Linked DNA regions of Homo sapiens: region 1 is linked to region 2. Evidence: promoter capture Hi-C in human tissues and cell types (Jung and others, 2019). All regions are on one chromosome and are shown on one strand. The core of a region is centred on a gene start or on the middle of the fragment in contact, and the rest is flanking DNA. Distances in the headings are between cores, read along the strand shown. Region 1 holds the start of TRN-GTT2-4 (tRNA-Asn (anticodon GTT) 2-4). Region 2 holds the start of MEDAG (mesenteric estrogen dependent adipogenesis).

What was found. The method cuts DNA at HindIII sites, captures the fragments that hold promoters and counts their contacts. A contact is called where the count stands out against the background at its distance.
Region 1: a fragment that was not itself captured here is called in contact with the fragment with the promoter of MEDAG in region 2 in 3 of the 25 tissues and cell types used here (aorta, hippocampus and mesenchymal stem cells).

Annotation. Positions count from the first base shown.
Region 1 is chr13:30,668,671-30,675,306 of GRCh38, reverse strand. It overlaps TRN-GTT2-4 (tRNA-Asn (anticodon GTT) 2-4), which reads left to right and starts at 1,270; the gene lies at 1,270-1,343. RefSeq lists a silencer at 911-1,420. The HindIII fragment of the contact is 4,519 bases long and covers 258-4,776 here.
Region 2 is chr13:30,901,043-30,908,047 of GRCh38, reverse strand. MEDAG (mesenteric estrogen dependent adipogenesis) reads right to left here and starts at 1,777. Exons shown (of 5, transcript NM_032849.4): 1 at 1,255-1,777. The coding sequence starts at 1,532. All of the region lies in intron 2 of TEX26-AS1 (TEX26 antisense RNA 1), which reads left to right. RefSeq lists an enhancer at 675-1,176. The HindIII fragment of the contact is 12,319 bases long and covers 1-7,005 here.

The sequences.
Region 1 (6,636 bases), core at 1,268-3,767, 230 kb after region 2:
GGTAGGGAGCTTCTGTTTCGGAAGATGAAAAGGTTCTGGAAATGGATGGCGGTGATAGTTGCATAACAATGTGAATGTACTTAGTGCCACTGAACAGTGCGCCTAAAAAAATTGGCCGGGCACGGTGGCTCACGCCTGTAATGTCATCCCAGCACTTTGGGAGGCGGAGGCGGGCGGATCACGAGGTCAGGAGTACCAGACCAGCCTGGCCAGCATGGCGAAACCCCGCCTCTACTAAAAATACAAAAGTTAGCTGGGCGTGGTGGCAGGCGCCTGTATTCCCAGCTACTCGGGAGGCTGAGGCAGGAATCGCTTGAACCCGGGAGGCGGAGGTTGCAGTGAGCCGAGATCGCGCCATTGCACTCCAGCAACAGGGCAAGACTCCATCTCAAAAAAAAAAAAAAAAAAAAAAAAAAAAAATTCAGAAGTCAGGGAAAGGGAGAAGCCTTCAATGGCCATTTCAAACTGAAAGGCTATCTTAATTGCCAGTCCCTCTATAAGGCTTTTTTGATGTCCCCTAAACTATGCAATCTCAACAGAGGCCATATGCCTCAAAATGGGGTGCAAATTGGTTCTTAGAAGGTGGCAAAAATCATATTCTTTTTATGTACGAAGCACAGATATACATACAGTCTACATTGATACACAGCCTATCTATGTTCGTTGCATTTTACGGGGTGAGAGGTGATGAGATGAAAAACTGTCTAAGGAGAAGGGGCAATAGCGGCAACCCAGAAAAAGGGTTAGGTCCCTTAAGTTTGGGACCTAAGCGCACGTGACTCTCCATCCTTTAAACCTGTACAGCACGTGGTTCTTCCCTCCAAGCGTGTCGTATTCTCTCCGTGCGACCTATTCCCCTTGGCAGGTTCTCCCCTGGGTCCCTGGTTACTGGTGGCGCGCCCGGCCGGCACGGTCCCCGCCGCAGAGCACGCATGGCGCGCAGCCATTGCTGAGAGGATCTTTCCTACCCCGAGTCCGGGCCGACTGCGGACCACTGGCCGCTGCCGCCACGAGGGGCGCGCTTCGTCCCCAGAGAAGCCCGGAGTCACGCGGCCTCGCCCGCCCCCTCCCGCGCGCCGGGGCACAGCCTCTCCCCCCGCGGCGGCCGCTGGGCACCTCGGCCGCTTCCGCTGCCTCCTCGGCGCGCCCCGCGACTTCTCAGCCCGTGCCTGGGGTGGCAACGCCTGGGGTGGCGACGCCCAGGGTGGCTAGAGCGGCTGCCGGCGCCGCGGAAATCTGTACACACCGCAGCGCGGCCTGAGTAACTGGGTCTCTGTGGCGCAATCGGTTAGCGCGTTCGGCTGTTAACCGAAAGGTTGGTGGTTCGAGCCCACCCAGGGACGGTCAGTGCTTCTTTTCCCGAGACAACATTTACCCGATGGTTCATTTTAATAATGAGATTTTTAATCGAATAGGAGCATGATGCTACAACGTTTCTAGGACATGGACAGACAATATCCTCTTAATGTGTGGTGCCTAGTGGCTGGGCCCAAGGGAGAGACTGTGTCTGCACTGGAAGCCATGGTTTGGCAATTCTATTCCTACTACTTATCCAAGGGAAACTTGCACGTGTGCTTCAAGACACCTTCCCAACAATGCTCACAAACGGCAGTGGTAATAGCAAAACAGCAACTCAATTGCCCATTGACTGGTGAATTTATAAATTCCATTGGTGTTTCTCAGAAAAATCTGGCACCACCAAAAAGCAAATGTAGTTATTTAAGATTGTCTTCTTTGCTTCCAAAAGCATGAGCAGCCTTCCAGATGAAAACGTGTAGAGGAGTCATTATAAGCATATGGAAGCTTACCATCTTAAGAAACTATTTATTCAGTTAAGTTCTGTTACAGCTTTTGGACAACGGACTTGAATCTAGGGAAAAATGTTAATGTTTACCTTAGATTGCTGACAGAATTAACCCTGAAATTAAACTCCAGCAGAAATTGTGCGGGTTCCTGTTACAAGTTCTTGAATAACATATTTTCAACTCTGGTCTAACAGAGGACACATATTTTTCAAGCAGAATATTCACATAAGACTTTAAAGATAGAAAAACACATGATAATATGATAACATGATGATATAATTTATTTCTACCAAGATTCAGGTCCTATGGTAGGTGCTTTATCTCTGGGATCTACTTACCTCCAACAGAACTTAGAAGCCTGGAAGAAGGAGTAGTTAATAGAGTCACTAGGCTATCTTTAAAGGAATGCCTTGGCAAATGTTTGCTGATAGTTATCAATCAAATAATTGTCGATAACACAATACCCTCTGTTGTTTAGTTAGTAGCCCTGGAGAAGGAGACACAACGTCGTACTTACGGTGGAATTCCAGGCAACAGAACAAGTAGCTCTCAAAAATTTTCTTAGAGGCCGGGCGCAGTGGCTCACACCTGTAATCCCAGCACTTTGGGAGGCCAAGGTGGGCAGATCATGGGGTCAGGAGTTCAAGACCAGCCTGGCTAACATAGTGAAATCCTGCCTTTATTAAAAATATAAAAATTAACTAGGCATGATGGTGCACACCTGTAGTCCCAGCTACTCAGGAGGCTGAGGCAGGAGAATCACTTGAACCTGAGAGGTGGAGGTTGCAGTAAGCTGAGATCGTGCCACTGCACTCCAGCCTGGGTGACAGAGCAAGGCTCCTTCTCAGAAAAAAAAAAAAAAAAAAAAATGTTCTTAGGTAGGAATCTTTCCGATGCCCATCAAATTCCAAACGTCCTGTCTACACTTCTGGGTAGCTTATAGTAGAAACCACAAAATGAGGGGAAATTAGATCATAAGATAATTTATATACTGTTCAAACCTAGTCTTACATTTCAAGATGCAGGGCATATATTTGCTATCACTACAATTACAGGGACTTAGAAAACATGCCCTTGGAAAACATGCCCTTCCACTTTGAAGCTGAATATATTACCCTAGGCGAGAGCAGAGATCATTTTCTGTTATCAATGATCATTTTTAGGCTCCAAGGGATTTCCTTCAAGATACACTTCAAATTTTTTGTTGTTGTTGTTGTTTTCAGATGGAGTCTTGCACTGTTGCCCAGGCTGGAGTGCAGTGGCACAGTCTCCGCCCACTGCAAGCTCCGCCTCCCGGGTTCATGCCATTCTCCTGCCTCAGCTCCCTGAGTAGCTGGGACTACGGGCGCCCGCCACCACGCCCCGCTAATTTTTTGTACTTTTTTTTTAGTAGAGACGGGGTTTCACCATGTTAGCCAGGATGGTCTCGATCTCCTGACCTCGTGATCCGCCCGCCTTGGCCTCCCAAAGTGCTGGGATTTCAGGCGTGAGCCACCGCTCCCGGCCTCAAATTCTTGAGCTTAGCAAAAGGGCTTCTATAGTCCATACCCTAGTCTCCTACCATGTTCCTTCATGAAAGCTTCACACAGTTACATGCAGTTACCAAGGGTTCCCTGAGTTACCCATGCAGACTTACACGCCCCACCTAGATCCTCTCCCTGCTCTGCCCTTCTCCACCTCCACCCCACTTAGCTGGGAGACATCCGCTGAGGCATCACCTTCTCAGGGAACCTCCCCTGATGCTGCTTCGATCTAATATAGACACCCCTTCTCCCAGCAGTCACCACAACCCCCGGAAACAGTGAGTTGCTTGTCACCTCCACTGAGATATGAACTCCTTGGGAGTAGGGACCAGTTCTTCATTCCCAGTGCTTGCCCCTCTAGCACAGACCTGTCCCCTAGCACATGTTCAGTGCAGAGGCACTCTCTGCCTTCTCAGGGTATGGTTCACAGATGGACAACCAGATAAAAATGCATCTGATGGAGTGTCAGCAAGTCAGCCAAAGAAAAATGTTCCCAGGCCACGAAGTAAGTGGCCAACATAGACTGGGGCTGTGAGCCTTCATTGAGGATTTGAAACAACCCTGAGAGATGTGGGCAGGCAGGTGAGAGGCATTTAAGGCCAAGGAAAATTCCAGACAAAACGAGAGCGAGGGTAAGAAATGAACATAACCAGTACATAGGACAAGTGTACTTCAAGAAGGTGCAGGGGAAATGTTCTTAGCTCCTGGAAGGTCCTTGAATACCTAGGATGTGGCTAACTTTACCCCGTAAGGGAAGGGAGTAACTTATTAGAGATTTCTGTTTCAGGGTAGAATGAAATCTATTTTAGGTGATTAGTGTGGCAGCAATGTAGGGGAAATAGTAGATCAGAGACTAGTTAGGAGGAAATTATATTTCAAACGAGGCACAACGAGGTTCTGGGTTCAAATAGGCCTGGAGAAGGCAGCATGGGTGCAATTCAAGGGAAAATTGGGCAAGTGTTGGGGACTGCAGCAGTGGGGAAGTGTCTATGGTGATGCCTACATTTAGAACCTGGCTGATGCTACTAATAGGAATTCAAAATCTGAAAGGGTCTTAAAGAAACCTAGGAATAAATATTACAAATTGTCCAAACTCTTAGCTTACTTTACATGTGGCTGATTCCCCACCATGGAGTTGCTCTGGAACCTAGAACCTAATTTCAGAAACAATCTTTGGCTTTGGGTTTTTTGGGGTTTTTTTGTTTTTTTTTTGTTTGTTTGTTTTTGCATAAGAAAGCATCTTTCATTGGATTTTGTTTTTCAGTTAAATTTCATTTTAGGTTTAAGTTAAACTTCATTTATTGAAGTCAAACTTCCCAAGAGACTACCTTATGGATACATGGAGCCCTGTGAAAATCCAAATGACAGCCTAAAGACCCTCTCCCTAAAATATCCATATTTAGAGATGAGATTTTGTCCAGTGTCCAAGAGAGTCACAGGCCCTCTAAAACAGAGTTCTTGGCCCCCAGGTTTTGAAGACCTGGCTTTTACTTTATTTATTGGATTTACATTCTAACTACTGATAAAGGCCACAAAGCATGTCAAATCCGAAGTGTTTAGGTACAGAAAAATTACTAAACTGGAGACTTTAAGGTAACACAAAAATAAAAAACCAGAATAGTTTAATACTATTGACAAGTCACAAAGAGAAACAAGTTTGATTTTTTTTGGCTTAGTAATTAAGTAGGTCTATAAAATTAATAATAAAGGACTTGAGACAAAAAAAAAAAAAAAAAGCTGCCTTGAGGTTTTAACACTTAATGCTTTATTGTTGCAATCTGGAATGACCAGCTGGGAGGGGCTTTAATATATTGATCCTTTCAGGGTCATCACTTCTGCGGAGATTTACTCCATCAGCAGATACCAATTTGCATTTTTTCCCTTGTGAGTTACTTTAATGACACCCAGCAAATTGCGATATTTTAGTTACCTCTCTTAGAAATGGAGCCATTTTTCACCATGCTTTTTTAGTAAAAACAAAACAACAAAATTATTTTCTGTCAAAGATAAGAAACTAGTTATTCCCAAACAGGTATATCAAATGCACACTTCAAAATAAGGAGATTCTGAATTACCTTAGCAATAAACTTGAGTACATTATTGTATGTGTGAATATGAACATAATGATCATTTATACTTCATTGAATGATATATTCACTTATACTTGAGTATAGGTCTGATCATTGGAATTCATTGTAATAAATATCACATAGGGCCGAGCATGATGGCTCACACCTATAATCCCAGCACTTTGGGAGGCCGAGGCGGGCGGATTGCCTGAGCTCAGAAATTCAAGACCAGCCTGAGCAACACGGTGAAACCCCATCTCTACTAAAATACAAAAAATTAGCCGGGCGTGGTGGCATGCACCTGTAGTCCCAGCTACTAGGGAGGCTGAGGCAGAAGAATTGCTTGAGCCCAAGAGGCAGAGGCTGCAATGAGCCAAGATCGCGCCACTGCACTCCAGCCTGGGCGACAAAGCGAGACTCCGGCTCTGAATAAATAAAAAAATAACACATACGTGAAAATCTGCCATGGATAAGAGCCAATATACAACTGAAGTTTAAAATATAGAATTTCTCTATTAATTACCAAGCACAGGGATTCTTTACACCACAAGCGCCACAGCCAATGGGACACCAGTTTACAACCGCAAACATTTTGCTATCCTGCTAAACAGGGCTGGTTTATATTGCCTTAAGGCCGAGGGGAGCATTCACTCTGAGGTGAGTTGTGGAGATACTTGAACCTCCTCAGCATATTTAGATAATATCAGCCTCCCAGCCCAGTGAAAAGGCTTGTAAGAAAGAGAAAGCTGGCAAGAAGGGTACTTTACCAAGCTTTTACGTACCTGCACTAACTAAACAGGAAATGCATGTTCGTTTTCGGATTTGAAGTATTTCATAGGGTTCCTTTTCTCCCTATAAGCTCTGGCTTCTGTGTTAATCTACTGATTATTTTGAACTTCTCCAATACTAGATTTATCGTCACTGCAGTGCTTTGCTATCCTGCAAATATTAGTAAGTGCCTTTTCATGGATGTGCCGTGCTTAGAAGCATCCTGAGGCGCCTTTCAGCCACCTTTGCTTCTTCCATGGTTCCTTGAGGGAACACTGGCTGGGGAATTAGGGATGTGAACCTACTGGTGTTTTTGAAAAGCTGTCAAAATAGCAAAATTCCAACAAATCGAGTGTAATAATTTAATTGGCTTTTACTAGCGATACATGAGTCGGGCAGCATCCCATCTATAAATAGAAGGGTACTTCAATGAGCTGAGCAGAGGAGATAGGTTTTACAGGCAGAAATAGA
Region 2 (7,005 bases), core at 528-3,027:
AATACAATGGGTATCTTCTTTTTAAATCTGCACACATCTGACTCAGTTCCTCCCACAGTCCTCCGCTTATGGTTTGGAATTGGAATTTTCATTTCACTAAGAAAGGGAGAAATTCTTGCTGGGGAATGGTTCTTCAGGCATTCAGAGCCCTCACTATCTTTGGAAAAGCAAGGTTTTTTCTCCAAGAGTTTTGAAGACTGCACGTTCAATATCTCATTTTGTTTGCTTCCCTCTCTTGGCTCCCTCCTACCCACAGGGTGCCACAGCACGCTGTCTTTCCCAGTAGCAAAGGCGCTGTGTCTCAAAAGCTGGCTATCTTATTCATTTCTGAGTCAAACTCTAGACCATGCTTGCCTCTTCAGGCACTTGGCTCTCTCAGCACAAATATAACAGGTCTTTGCACTCCAGGCCCTTGCCAAGAGTGAACTCTGGAGGCCTGAGGCCATGTGGAATCAGGCCTGAAGTGCCCTCCTTTACCCTGTGGCACCAAAGCCTGCTTCAGATGGCTGGGCCACATCCTGCCGGTCTGCCAAGAAGAGCTTGGGGGCACTCTGGCCACAACAGTCAAGCATCCTGGGGGCCTCCTTCCCATTAAGGCCCTCAGGTTTCGCACTTATTTCCCCAGAACTTATCTGTGCCTTCCACAGCCCACATGGCCCCGGGCTGGACTTCCAGGGGCTTTGTTCCCTTCTCAGCTGCGGTTTATTTGTTTACTTTTGAAACACGAAGTGAGGCCAGAGATGGGAAACTTTGAGCTTTTGCATGCTTCTCCACTCGGTCTCCTCACTGGAGAGGGCTGGCAGTGCTCAGAATGGTGCATGCCCCCTGCTCCTCACCGCCACCCATGCTCCAAAGCCAGGATGTGAGTCTTGCAGAGCTGCAGACAGCCCCTAAAGGGTGTGCTCCCAATTTGAGCTCATCTGACCCAGTTAAGGAGCCAGAATGGGAGAAGCATCTGCCACTCATGAGCTCTGGCTGGGGGGCCCCTGCCCTCCCCCTCGCCCCCAGTCCTGATGCCCTTCTGGGCGGCTTCAAGCAGCAGCTGCAAAATGTCAGTGCAAGAGGCAGAAGAACCAGGGCGAGCGTGCAGGCTCCGGGTGATAGAAGCAGAAGGAAAGTCTAGAAGCGCACGGAGCAAGGGGCCACGCGGTGTCGCAGGCAGCGAGGACAGCCCAGGCTCCCAGAGACCGCAGCCGGGTGGAGGCGTCTGCGGGTACCAGGCGACGGGCCAGGGCGCACGGCGAGGCCACCCACCTCTTGATGTAGCTGCTGAGGCGGTAGAGCTGCCCGTCGAGGCGCACGAGGCCGTCACCGAAGACGTTGAAGCCCCCCCGCGCCGCCGCCGGCTCCCCGGGCCTGGCCACCACGAGCTGGTCGCCGCTCAGCTGGAAGGCACCGGGCTGCAGGCGCAGCAGCTGAGCCAGCGGCAGCAGGGCCAGCTCGCAGTCGCAGGTCCACAGGCTGCGAAGCTCCCCAGACGAGATGGAGGTCAGGCTCGGCCTGGCCACCGGCTCGCAGGCCGCCCCCGCCATGCCCGCGTCGTCGGTCCTCACACCGCCTGCTTCCGTCCGGTGCCTACAGCCCCCAGCCGGCACCTGATGGTCCCCAGGAGGGGCCGGGCGCCCTGCCTGCGTCAGCCGCGCGCGAGGTGAGGAGGGGGTCGGTCTGCCCGCCTGGCCGGGACGCGGTGGCCGCTCAGGTGCCAGTCTGACCGCCCGGGCGGCCCCTCCCAAGCTGCCACTCGCTGGGAGCCCTGCAGGCACCGCGCGGAGAAAGCGGCCCCGGCGCAGCGCGGCCCCTTTTATCCGCCCTCTGGACGCCCGCCTCGCCCCTGCCGGCCCACGGCCACGACCCCAGAGGCTCGGGGCAGAGTTATCATCGTCTCATAACTTGGCATGCTCGAGTCTGCTCGCAGGCAAGGCTTAGTCATCCCCCTGGGGTCCACTACTCAACACCAGCGCTGGCCCCCGCCCTGCCTGGCGGACACTGCCGGAGGCTGGAGGTGGGGAGAGTCCTCCCCGGGTTCCCAGGCCCTGCCTATGGTGGGCGGCAGGGCGCACAGCACCCATCCTTGCCTAAGACACCACACCCCTGGTGTTGATTGGAGAAGAAGGCAAGGGCTCTGGCCCTACCCATTCCACCTGGGACCCAGAGGCTGTCAAAGGCCAGTGCTGGAACTCCGATCCCCACCTCAGTACCAGACCTCTCACTCAGCCTCAGTTTTCTGCCATTTTAACTCCATCCAGATCGTACCCTGCATTTCCCTCCTTTCAGCCTTTCCTTCAGCTGGTTGCTGGCCCTGGATCCCTTCCCCCTAGAAATCCCACTGATCATCACATCGCTTTTCCATAAAGCCTTCACGAATCCCACGAGGGTTTCATCGCTTTGCTTCTCCTTTCTACTGCACGGTGAACCCTAGACTGCAATGTGCCGTGTAGTGGGGATAGCAGGGTCCTAGCATCCTCCCTTCTCCCCTGCCTCCCCAGTAGGTGGTGATCTCCTTGAGCCCCAGAATATGTTCATTTCTTCAGTCTATAAATATGTGAGTGCTAGCTATGGGCTCATTGATCTCCTGAGGTATGAAAGGAGAACTATATTATTCCATTTAATTAAACACCTATTTCTGCTGCGGAGAAGCCTGGATGGGATGGGAGGAGAATCTAGCCTAGTTTCGAGGCTTTCTGTAGTACTGTGTTTTAGGATTCTAAGCTACATCCCAAAAGTTGAGTAGAACGTAGAGAATATCCTTAGTTAGTCTTTGTGTGCCCCCACATGAACTCTTGTGTAGGTTTAATCAGATGGGATGAAGAGTCCTCCCGCCACATCTCATTTAAATCTCAGAATATAAATGAGCCCCACTCTCTTCTCTTCTTCTAGGTGCACACCTATCCTTTCTCCAGACATGGATCTTTTACCCATGGGATCATTACCCCATCTCTGGGCCTCTCTGAACAAATCTAATTCACTGAGCATGAATTGATCACTACCCACTCAACCTTTTGTGGCGCAGGAAGGATGCTCTACCTGTGAAAAAAGCATCCAGAAGATCTTCTTGCAAAGGGAGGTTTGAGGATCCCTGCAAAGAGAATGGGTCTGGGGTGGGCTGAGACTGTAGACAGGACTCAGAGGCTGGGGCTGTTTTCACAGGGGAGGGATTTGGTGCCAGCAGTTAAATCCATTGTGCCCTATTTAGAACTTCACTCTTGTCCCAAACATTGACAGAGTCATCACTATGCACCAGGGACCATCTTAAGCTCTGAGGTCACACACACACACACACAAGGATCCAATAAGTGCTACCATAGATGTATGGACTAAGCACTATGAGAAATAAGTGGTTCTGCCCCAAGAAGGGTGCTCAAAGGAGGTGACACATGGCTAGACTTCCAATACACAGGGGAGGCTCCCAGGGGAAGGAGCAGCAGCAATAAGGAGATGGGAGAGAAGATTCTGTACCATTCTATGCAAAGAGAGATGCTATGGTTCCATCTGGGGGAGGGGGGAAATTTTTAAACAGCTAGGGCAGACCATCCTATTTGGGATAAGAGGGGTCAGTTTTATATGAGATGAGACCAGAAAGGGCTGTTGGAGCCAGATTGTGACAGACCCTCTGAGTTGTCAGGAATTTGGATTCTTAAGACAATGAGGAGCCTTGGGATGTTTTAAAGAAAGGAAGTGATATAATTATGCCTCAGTTCAGATAGACACCTTTGGTTATGACCAAAGAAGATGTTTTGAAACAGGAAGATCAGAGGCAGAGAAACCAGTTAGGAGATTGATGTAATAATCCAGATAACATATGATGGGGGTCTGAACAGAAGCAGCTGTGGGAATGGAGATGAGGTTTCAACATTTTTGAGTCAGAGTCAGCAGGAAGGATCTTATGAGTAAATAAATGAAAAAGAGCAGAGAGACCCACTTAGTCTCTTGCTTGGGTACCCAGAGAGATGGTGACACCATTAACGAAGCTAGGGTTCACAGGAGGAAGAGTAGGAGTTTGAGGAGAGATAGTGATGAGTTCAGGGGGGACATACTGATTTTGAGCTACTTATGGAACATCAAGGTAGAAAAGTCCAGGAGGCAAGGAGTTAGTTGGGTCTGGCGTTTTGGAAAGACAAGGTCAATGATTGAGATTTGAAAGTCTCTAGATCAAAGACGGGGTTGAAGCCAAAGAAGTGGATGGGGGCATCTAGCTAATACATGATAGGGTAGGAATTTGAACCCAGGCCTTTAGTTTACTTCAACATATGTTAATTGAGCATCTGCTATGTTCAGTGCTTTGCTGGAGATACAGAGTTGAATAGAGGATGGCCCCTGTCCTCAAATAACAGGGAGAAATGCAGGAATCAGCATGAACTAGTCTTCTGGCACCATGTCCAAACATGTGGCTGAAATCTAGTTATATTTTGCCTGTGTCTCCAACCTGCTGGTGGAATACAACCTCAACAACAATAACAGCTGCAGAAGTTGCTTTCAATTAGTAAGTCAAGGAGGGCAGGTCCACTACAGAGCCCTCACCAGCCCCTACTCTCCCCATTCCACATAGATCGAACTCAACAACTCACCCTATGAGCTTCACATAGATCAAGCTCAACAACTCTTGATTGCCCTTAAACCTACACCACACTGTCTATGAATGATTTGGCTTTCTTGAAGGGTAAAATGTTACATCGGGGTTTTATATCAGAATTATATGCATTTGTTTAAGATAAACATACCAGTCCCTCCTATCAAAAAACCGTTTCCTGGGCAGGCACGGTGGCTCACACCTATAATTCCAGTATTCTGGGAGGCCAAGGCATGTGGATCGCCTGAGGTCAGGAGTTCCAGACCAGCCTGGCCAACATGGTGAAATCCCATCTCTACTAAAAATACAAAAATTAGCTGGGTATGGTGTTGAATGCCTGTAATCCTAGCTACTTGGGAGGCTGAGGCAGGAGAATCGCTTGAACCTGGGAGGCAGAGGTTGCAATGAGCCAAGATCGTGCCATTGCACTCCAGCCTGGGTGACAAGAGTCAAACTCCATCTCAAAAAAAAAAATCCGTTTCCTTCATAGTAAGATATCAACACTTAGATCTGAGTAGAAGAATTAAACGAAATTTTTCTTTACCTCACCACAGTTGTGTGATTTTACACTTTTCCTGTATTTTCCAAATAAATGTGTATTGTTTTATACAGAAAAATGATGTTGAGCATAATAAAAATATTTTAAAGATGCTTTCTTGGTATGTTGTCTAGAGGTTTCATTTGATGCGTTTTCAGCAAAACACCTGCATTTCTTTATGGGTAATTTATGCATTACCAAAATGCCAGAGAAAGATATGAAAAAGTGAACAGAAAAAAAATAGTATTCAATGTAATGTAAGCCATTGCTAATAAGTAGAGAGCTAGAGAGATCTTTTCATGTTTAATGTCTTTTTCATTACCCAAGTACCAGCCAGGCAAACAATCACTCCTGGTGACGACCTTTTCAGTCTTTTTTTGGTTTGCTTACATAGTTGTGTTCCTATCGTAGAATTTTTATTCGGCTTTGTGCATTTAACATTATATGTATATTATGTTGTGAAAATTTCATTTTCTTTGTGAATAGTATTTTAAATCACTATGCTATTTTCCATCAAGTGTATATTCTATTGTTTGTCTAGACATTTCTTTACTCTTGAACACTCAGATTGTTTCTTGTTTTTCCTTATAAACAATGCTGCAATAAACATCTTCATACTTTGATTTCGTTTTTCTGTATCCAAGCTCTCAGAGATGGAATTACTGGGACAAATGATATGAGAATGTGCATTGCTCTGGAAACGTGTGTCATTATTCTCCTAAAGGCTGGCACCAATTTGTCTTCTCACCAGCAGTGATTTTTCATGGTTTTAAATCTTTGCAGTTGGGGTAGGGTACCTCACAGCTATTTACGCTACAAGTGAGATTAACAGTTTAGCTATAATGTTACCACTCAAATTTAGAGACTTTATAGCAAGGCAATCACCCATTGGTGAGTCTGTGGCTATGCTCACAGGTAAAAGACAAGATAAAGATTTTGCCATCCTTATGTGTCCCCATTAAGGTAACTGTGCTATGGGGACATCAGCAGCTCACAGGCTCAGTTTCTCAGCTTTGGGGGTCCAAAGTTCATATTCAGAAATTTGATTCAACCTTACCAAATTCACAAAAGATTAAAAATCAATTAGGCACCACCACTGCCACCATTTTTGGATTTTTCTGTCAGCATACAAACATCTACAGGTTTCTTTTGTCTTAAAAAAAATAACTTTTTAAACATTTTAACATCTCACTTTCCCTTTTAGTACATTTCCATCTCTCTTCTTCACTCTATGGTCAAACTCCCTGAAAAAATTCTCTAAATTCCTTGCCTGACATTTACTCCTCAAGACTTTATACCTTGACTTCTGCCCATCACACCTCCTGAAACTGACCAAGTCTCCAATGACCTCCTTGTTACTAAACCTCATAAACACTTTCTGTTTTGATCTCACTAGACTACACTTGTCCCTGCAGTTCTCTCTTCCCTTAGCTTGTGAAGAACTTGCACAATGTAGTGAAAGGTGCAAAGGGTTTAGAGTTGAAAAATCTAACTCTAACATTTGCTAACCATGTCATCTTGAGCAAGTTTCCTAAACTCTCCTGTCGTTCATTTTCTCATTTTTAAAATTAGGGTAATAGAGGGAGAGGCAGGATAGCAACACCGTTAAGAGCTCAGACTTTGGTACCTTGTCACCTGGGTTGGAATCTTGAATCTAGCCTGCAGTCTTGAACACATTACTCCTATGTGTTTCAGTTTCCTCATATGTGAAGTGTGAGGTTTGTAAGGATTTGATGTGTTATGGCAAAGAATTGTCTGACACATAGTAAGTGCAATGTAAGTGTTTGTTTGATGCCTACATCAGGGGACTTCTGTAAGAGTACAATGAGTTGACCGCCCACTCACAGCATCTAGCTCAGTGCCCGGTTCTCGAGTAATAGTGTCAGCTCCCTGTCTTCTC